Regions from separate parts of the Homo sapiens genome. Here region 1 is linked to region 2. The links are contacts of gene promoters, found by promoter capture Hi-C in human tissues and cell types (Jung and others, 2019). All regions are on one chromosome and are shown on one strand. Each heading gives the region's core, a stretch centred on a gene start or on the middle of the fragment in contact. The rest is flanking DNA. Distances are from core to core; before and after follow the strand shown. Region 1 overlaps ARFIP1 (ARF interacting protein 1). Region 2 holds the start of FHDC1 (FH2 domain containing 1).

Evidence for each region. Contacts are between HindIII fragments. The study calls those that stand out against the background at their distance.
Region 1: a fragment that was not itself captured here is called in contact with the fragment with the promoter of FHDC1 in region 2 in 1 of the 25 tissues and cell types used here (H1 embryonic stem cells).

The regions. Positions count from the first base shown.
Region 1 is chr4:152,783,831-152,787,084 of GRCh38, reverse strand. The region is part of intron 1 of ARFIP1 (ARF interacting protein 1); the gene reads right to left. Among named protein-coding and RNA genes, the nearest start is that of ARFIP1, 5.5 kb to the right of the region's middle. The HindIII fragment of the contact is 6,067 bases long and covers 1-3,254 here.
Region 2 is chr4:152,934,873-152,938,295 of GRCh38, reverse strand. FHDC1 (FH2 domain containing 1) reads right to left here and starts at 1,973. Exons shown (of 12, transcript NM_001371116.1): 1 at 1,887-1,973. LOC729870 (a long non-coding RNA gene) reads left to right here and starts at 1,459. Exons shown (of 2, transcript NR_136614.1): 1 at 1,459-1,647; 2 at 2,846-3,423. RefSeq lists silencers at 336-595, 1,928-2,017. The HindIII fragment of the contact is 7,704 bases long and covers 1-3,423 here.

The DNA of each region.
Region 1 (3,254 bases), core at 744-3,243, 150 kb after region 2:
CTTACCTTCATGAAGTTTATAGGCCACTGAACAGAAAGAAAATCTTACAGTCACATGAATAAATGTAAATTGCAAACTGCGGGAAATGTATGATGCTATTACCTTAATGTGGGAAGTGAGCATATTCTCTAAGGATGCAAAACTTCAGCTGAGGTGTGAAGGATGACTAGGAACTAACAAGTGAAATGAAATGAAAGTAAAGAAAGAATGGTCCAGACAGAGAGAAAAGCATGTACAAAAGCCTTGCAAAAATGGCAGGGAGCAAGGTGCATACAAAGGACTAAAGAAGGCCAGCATGGTTGAACTGGAGAGTTATGCAGAACATGGTACAAGATGAGTCTGGAGAGCTAAAGGCTGTTAAGCAGTTTTATTTTGATCCTAGAAGCAATGGAAAGCCATAAAAGCACTGGGGGAGGAAGAAGGAGAGTGATAATCCAATGTGTGTTTCAAAATAAATCACTGTGCCTTCAAGATGGGTAATGAATTAGAGAGGACAGATAAGAATGGAGGCTATTGTAAAAGTTTCAGGCAAGATGAAGTGGCAGTAGTGGAAACAGGAAGAAATAGAAAAATTCAAGAGTCATGTAGAAAGTAAGACTTTAAAAACTTGTTCAATCATTGGATCTATCAGGGAGAGGGAATTAAGGATCACTTCTAGTTTTCTGGATTTTACAATGAAAAGATAATTGTGTCATTCACTGAAAAAAGGAACAAAGAAAGAACCAACGTTGTGCAGTTTTGTAGGGAGGGAAGGGGAAATCAGTTTCATTTTAGACATACTGGATTTGAGATACCTTTAAGATATTCAAGAAAGGATGTCAACAAGACAGCAAGACATACAGATCTACAGCTCAAAGCAGACAGAAAACACTCATGCCCTTAATGAAGCTGACATCTTTATCCTAGAAAAGCAGCTAACTATAATCCCCAAATATCCAAGAAAAATGTTAGACTTAGACTTTGACCATCTGGATTTAGTTAAAACAAAAAGCTGAGAGAGAACATGGCAATAACATTTCATCAGCTAAAACAAAAACTGCTAGGCACCATGGGTAGCAGATTTTTAAACTCGTGGTTCAACAATATAGGAATTATGTATCACATCATATCATGTCGCATTTTAAAGTTTTATCAGGGCTGGCCAATGTTGTTGGAAATGTTCTAAATTTGCACTGTCCAATAAAGTAGCCACCAGCCACATATGATACTGACACTGAAATGTGGCTGGTACAATGAGGAACTGAATCTTTTATTGTATTTAATTTTAACTAACTTAAATAGCTACATGTGGCTAGCATCCCTGGCATTAGACAGTGCAGGTTTACAGCTTTCTCATATATTTCATCTGATTCCCCAATACCTACTTTTCAAATTAACTGGGAGAGAGGTGTGGTGGGTGGAGAGATTAGAGGAATAGAAAAAACATCCTTTCCATTTTCTGCTTATTACTTGAATCTTTATTTCAAGAATTTATAATACTTATGCTGGATGCAGTGGTTCATGCCTGTTATCCCAGCACTTTGGGAGGCCAAGGCGGGAAGATCGCTTGAGCCCAGGAGTTCAAGACCACCCTGGGCAATATATAGCACTGAAACAAAACAGATAAGGTCCTGGCCATTTTAGAGATTACAGATCACGGGCTTAAACCCAGGGGCTCTTTCCACTGAGGGTATAAATTCCTGATCCATCCCTTTTTAGGTATGTGACCCTGGACAAAGCACTTTACCTAAATCTCAATTTCTTTATTTCTAATGTGGTGATGTTATCTGCTCTACCTATTTGGTATGGCTGGAGTAAAAATAAAATGAGGATGTATGTGAAAGTGCTTTGTAAATTATTACATGCTAAACAAACAGAAGGTATTAAACAGAGTAACATATTCCTTTTCTCTAGGGCAAAGATTTCCAAACAGTGTGCCAAGAATGGATTACAGATGTGCTGAAATTGTGACCCATTCCCCCACTCCACAGCTTCCAAGGAACCAAGGAGGGCCTGGCTCTAGTCTGCCATACAATTATAATCATTTTTTATGTGTGCCATGATGAGTATCTCAGGCTAGCAGAAACTGGAGTTGGCGAACTGACTCCCTCCTCTGGAAGATTTAGGGCTTACCACTAACTCTGCTGCTTTTATGATCCTGTTCCAAAGGCAGTATGTCACTGTTCCCCAGGGACCAATGAGGCTCAAGCTTCAACATCAAGGAGCTGCTAGTCCAATGCTATCACAGATATACAAAAATAAAATATAAATTCTTATCTTAGGTGAGAACATGGTAAAGACACTGCCATATTTTCACAAAAGATTTGAGCAATTGCCTGTTTTGCAACTACCTTCAGATCCCCAAATCTTTGTCTTTCAAGAGAGGATCTGATTTTTTCCAAATACCCAAAGTTATTCAGATTCTGGTGACTGAGGTCACGAAGTGACGAAGCCAGGCAAGAACTTCATTTTTGTATGTCTCAATCTGAACCGACAGTCATACTAGAAGAAGATTTCAAAGCAGATTGCCTACTCTGAAAAACAGCATTCACTTAAATAAGTATGTTCATTAAGGGAAAAAAGTGTATTTCATAAAGAGACTTTATATTCCTTTTTCAGGAACAACTAAAGGTTTGAGCAACACCTGCCTATGCCCATCCTAAGACAAAGGCTTAGAAGGAATGGAGGAGAATGGAATGAGAGATGGGAGAAAGAGGAGAATAGGAATAAAGGAAAAAGAAAAAGAAAATAAATACTTTTGTCTCATAAAGAATATCTGTTAATCTGCAAGAGCCATTCGGCAGCTTCCATGACTGCCAAAAGCTACTAAAGATCAAGGAAAACAAAATTATTTTCAGGCCAATAGTCTTTTTCATACATCCAGAAGTAGTGCTACATATCTGACTTTTAGATTGTCATGATCCTAAGTCATCAACTTCCATATTAAGTGGAACAACTCACTTTCCATTCTGTACAAATATTTTAGTTTTTCATCCATAACCATATTAAAGTTTCCTGTTTAATTTACTCCTTCTTCCATTCTGAATTTATTCTTTCCATCCCAAATGTATTATTCTAAAATTTATTTATACTTCCAGACTCTTACAATGCCCAGTTTATTACTTATAATCTTCATTTTCACATTTTCCCCTCCTCATATACACACACACCATCTGCTTATTATTTGAATCTTCATTTCAAGAATTTATAATACTTACAATTCTTTATTTCAAGTAGGTGTGTGTGTTCTAACACACACACACACACACACCAGA
Region 2 (3,423 bases), core at 724-3,223:
AGGCGCCCGAGACCAACACCCGAGAGCAGAGGAAAAACGCCTGTATTTGAATGTTCATTTTCAGTTTCTCTCACTGTCCCAAAACCAAGAAAAAAAAAAAAAAAAGCACATGCGTGCCAAAGGATGCTCTAGAGAGAGGGAAGGGAGCGCCGGCTGCTCCTTCCAGGAAGACAACTGTGGGTCAGTTGAAGGGGGTCACAGACGGCCGAATCCCGGAGGTCGTTTCTGTCCACACGGAAGTTTGAAAACCGACCATTAAGTCCGGAAGAAATTCGGCCTGGGGGGTCCTGGGACACCACTTCTTTCAAGTTTGGATACGTAGTAGTTCACCAGCTCTCTGCGTTAGACAGCTGTCCGCAGCCTCCTTACATCCCCAACCCGGCACCCCGGTCCCCGCCCGAGCCACTCACCAACAAGCCACCGGCTCAGCCGCCACCGGCTGGGCCGCGAATCCCCGGGGAGCCGCGCTGGGGTCAGCAAACTGAACGCGAGTGGGCGGCCCACGGGCCGCGCGGAGCCCCAGCTGCGTCCTTATCAGCGCCGGGCAGAAGGGCGTCGCGGCGCGAGGGTGGGGCGCCGGTGCGCGCTGAGATCGACGCCCACACGCGCCGCGCCAGCTCTGCGGCGGGGAGAGAAGCCGCGGCCTGCGGGGCGGGGACTGCGGGGCGGGCGCCCAGCGCGGGCGTTGCACGACCCTCGGCCTTCCGCAGCGCCGACCGCTCTCCCGTCCGGCGGCTGCAGCTGCTGGGTCGGCCGCCGCACCCGCTCGCCCATTCCCGGCCCCTCCAGTTGGAGGGGGTCTCGGCCCCGCCCCCCTCCCCGAGGGGCCCACGCTGGAAAGCCCACGCTCCCCACGCCACGCCCCCCAGGGCGCCAGCCCCTCTGCGGGGGTTTAGCACGCTGCGCCCAGAAGTTGGGTGGGAGACGGCTAACTAGGGGAGGTGTCCGTGTGAATGAAACGAAAGGGGGGGTCTTCCGGCTCGCAGACACCGGGTCTGCGGCGGCCGCGCGCTCCCAACCCACCCGGAGCCTCCGCCGCGACATCTTCCCACGTCCCCCATCCAGGTCGCAGGCGCGGGGGAAAAGCCTCACGGCCGCACTGCGGCTCTGCCAAAAGGGAGCCGGGTCGAGCCGCTGAGAAAAACAGAGGGGAGACTCCTGGCGTTTGAAACCGGTCAGAACCCGCTCTCCAAGAGCTGGGGACACCCCTTGTTTGGAGGCTGATCCCCAGCCCACCCGCTTCCTCCCCCTCCCCACACTCCTGCAGGCGCGGGGCGCAACTTGCAATCCGAACTTCGCGCGGCCGGAGCAAGTTTGTCGGGGCGAGAAGCGCCTGGTCCTCGGTCCGCACCACCGCACTAGGTCCCCGCCACCGCCCCACCACTGTGTCAGGGGCCAGGCGTGGCCCCCGGCTGGCTAGGGAACCGAGCGCGGCGCCGCGGCTGCGCATTCCGTGCGGGACGCCGCTGTCTCCCAAGGGTCGGGATAAACTAGGGGGCGGTTGATCTGAAAGTCTTAGCCACGACTAATAGTCAACCGCCCAGGTGCGACCCGCAGCAGCCTTGGCGATGCAGCTCGTTCTCCAGACGCGGGTCCACACCGGCGCGTCCTCGCCTCCAGGGACCGATCGCTGTTCTCCGTGGCCGGGTAAGGGCGGCCGCCAAAGTCACCGGGGTGGATGTGGAGGGAACTGGAACCTCCTCTCCAGCTTTCCCGGTGAGGCTCGGAGGAAGCCGAGACCCGGCACCCATCAGCCGCGCTTCTCGGCGCCTCAGCCTCGGGTCCCGGACAACACCCCAACCCTGACCCTCCCGAGCGGCGGGGCTCCAGCTCCCCGTGTCCCGCGCCGCGGTCGCCCCCGCCTCGGCCGCCCGACCCGCACTCACCCGCGGCCAGCGCGCCCCCGCTCCCGGCGCGCAGACCGCTGCAGCCTCCCGCCGTTGTGTCGGCGTAGCCGCCTCCTCCCGGTCACTGCAGGCCCAGCCAACCCTGAGCGCGAGGGGGCAGGGCGGGGCGGGGCGCAGCGGCAGCCTCAGGTAACAAAGCTGCGGCCTCGCTGCTCCTGGCCGGCCGGGAAGGGCAGCGCGCCCTTTCCTGCTCCGCCCCTCCCTCGCCTCCCCTTCCACCCTACGCGCGCCACCGTCACCGCCACGCGCTCACCTTCACCTGCGCGGGGCCCCGGGGGAGACGCCTCGGGGCACACTGCTTCCCGCACCCGAAGGCTGGTGCGGGGCTAGGCCGGGGGCCACCGAGAGAAGTAGGGGCGGCAGGAGACGGAGATAGCTGGGCTGCCCAGAAGAGCCAGGTGTCCTCGGGGAACGGGCGAGAGGAGGCGCCAAGCTGGCTTCTGAACCTGCAAGTGCCTTTCACAAAGGAGCCTTTGCGACAGCCTCCCAGGCACCCTCTCTTGTGCACACGGGCGCGCACACACTCTTATATACACGCGCGCACACACACACACACACCCGCACACGCCCCCCGACGCACGCGCCAGACCACCCTCTGCCCCAACACTTGCTTCTCCCTGGAGAGCTAGCAGCACTTGGGCGAACTGACCTGTCCCAACCCCTACAGCTGAAACCTGGCTGCGCTAGAGCTTCGCAAAGGTCAGCTCCTCCCTGGGGCCTGCCAAGCTGTAAATTTGTTACCGTTTTTTATTTTGTTTTTGTTTTTAATTCTCAATGATGATGGTAACAGAAACCTTTAGGTTGTATTAAAGCGTAAAAAGACCCCTCAAAAATTTTGCCAGGCCTCATCGAATGAACGCACGCTGTCTGGGAAAGGCACACTCCTCACAGAAAGAAACAGGGGAATCGATTTAATCACATTTTTTTTTTCTTCAAAGTGACTTGGGGCGCCAGTGAGAAGCAAGTAGTCAAAGAAAACATCCCGGGCAAACCGGCTGACCGAAAATCCACTGTCGGGGTAGGGAGGCGCCCTCTACGGGGATGAAGTCATCGCTACCTTTGACTCTTTGATCCTAGATAACCGACCAAGACGTTTCCAGCCTAATGCCTGACGCCTTTTGCTTCCTCCATCCTGGTCCTCAGTCCCTGAACTCCCAGGACAGAATTCCTGACCTCCTTGGTCAAGCCTTGGATCGAGAAAGAGAAACTATTAGTGTAAACAAACCAATCAACCCCAAAACCAAAACTGTGCCTGCCAATAGCCCATTTCTTGGCCATTGATGGTGCATGAAGAGAAATGGATCCAATTAAGAAAATCTTAAAATCTTAAGGAATAAGAAAATGTAATAAAGAGAAAGACAATGTCATGCTCAGGGAGCTAATATGAATCCCAAAGGAATATTGACTGTTCAGGCTCAAGTTAAATTACAGCAGATCGAAAGTGAGGAGTTGAGTGGCATCTTCTTTTCTCTTACTGTCGACCTTGTTAAATGGGGAGTCCACACCCCTTGCCTAC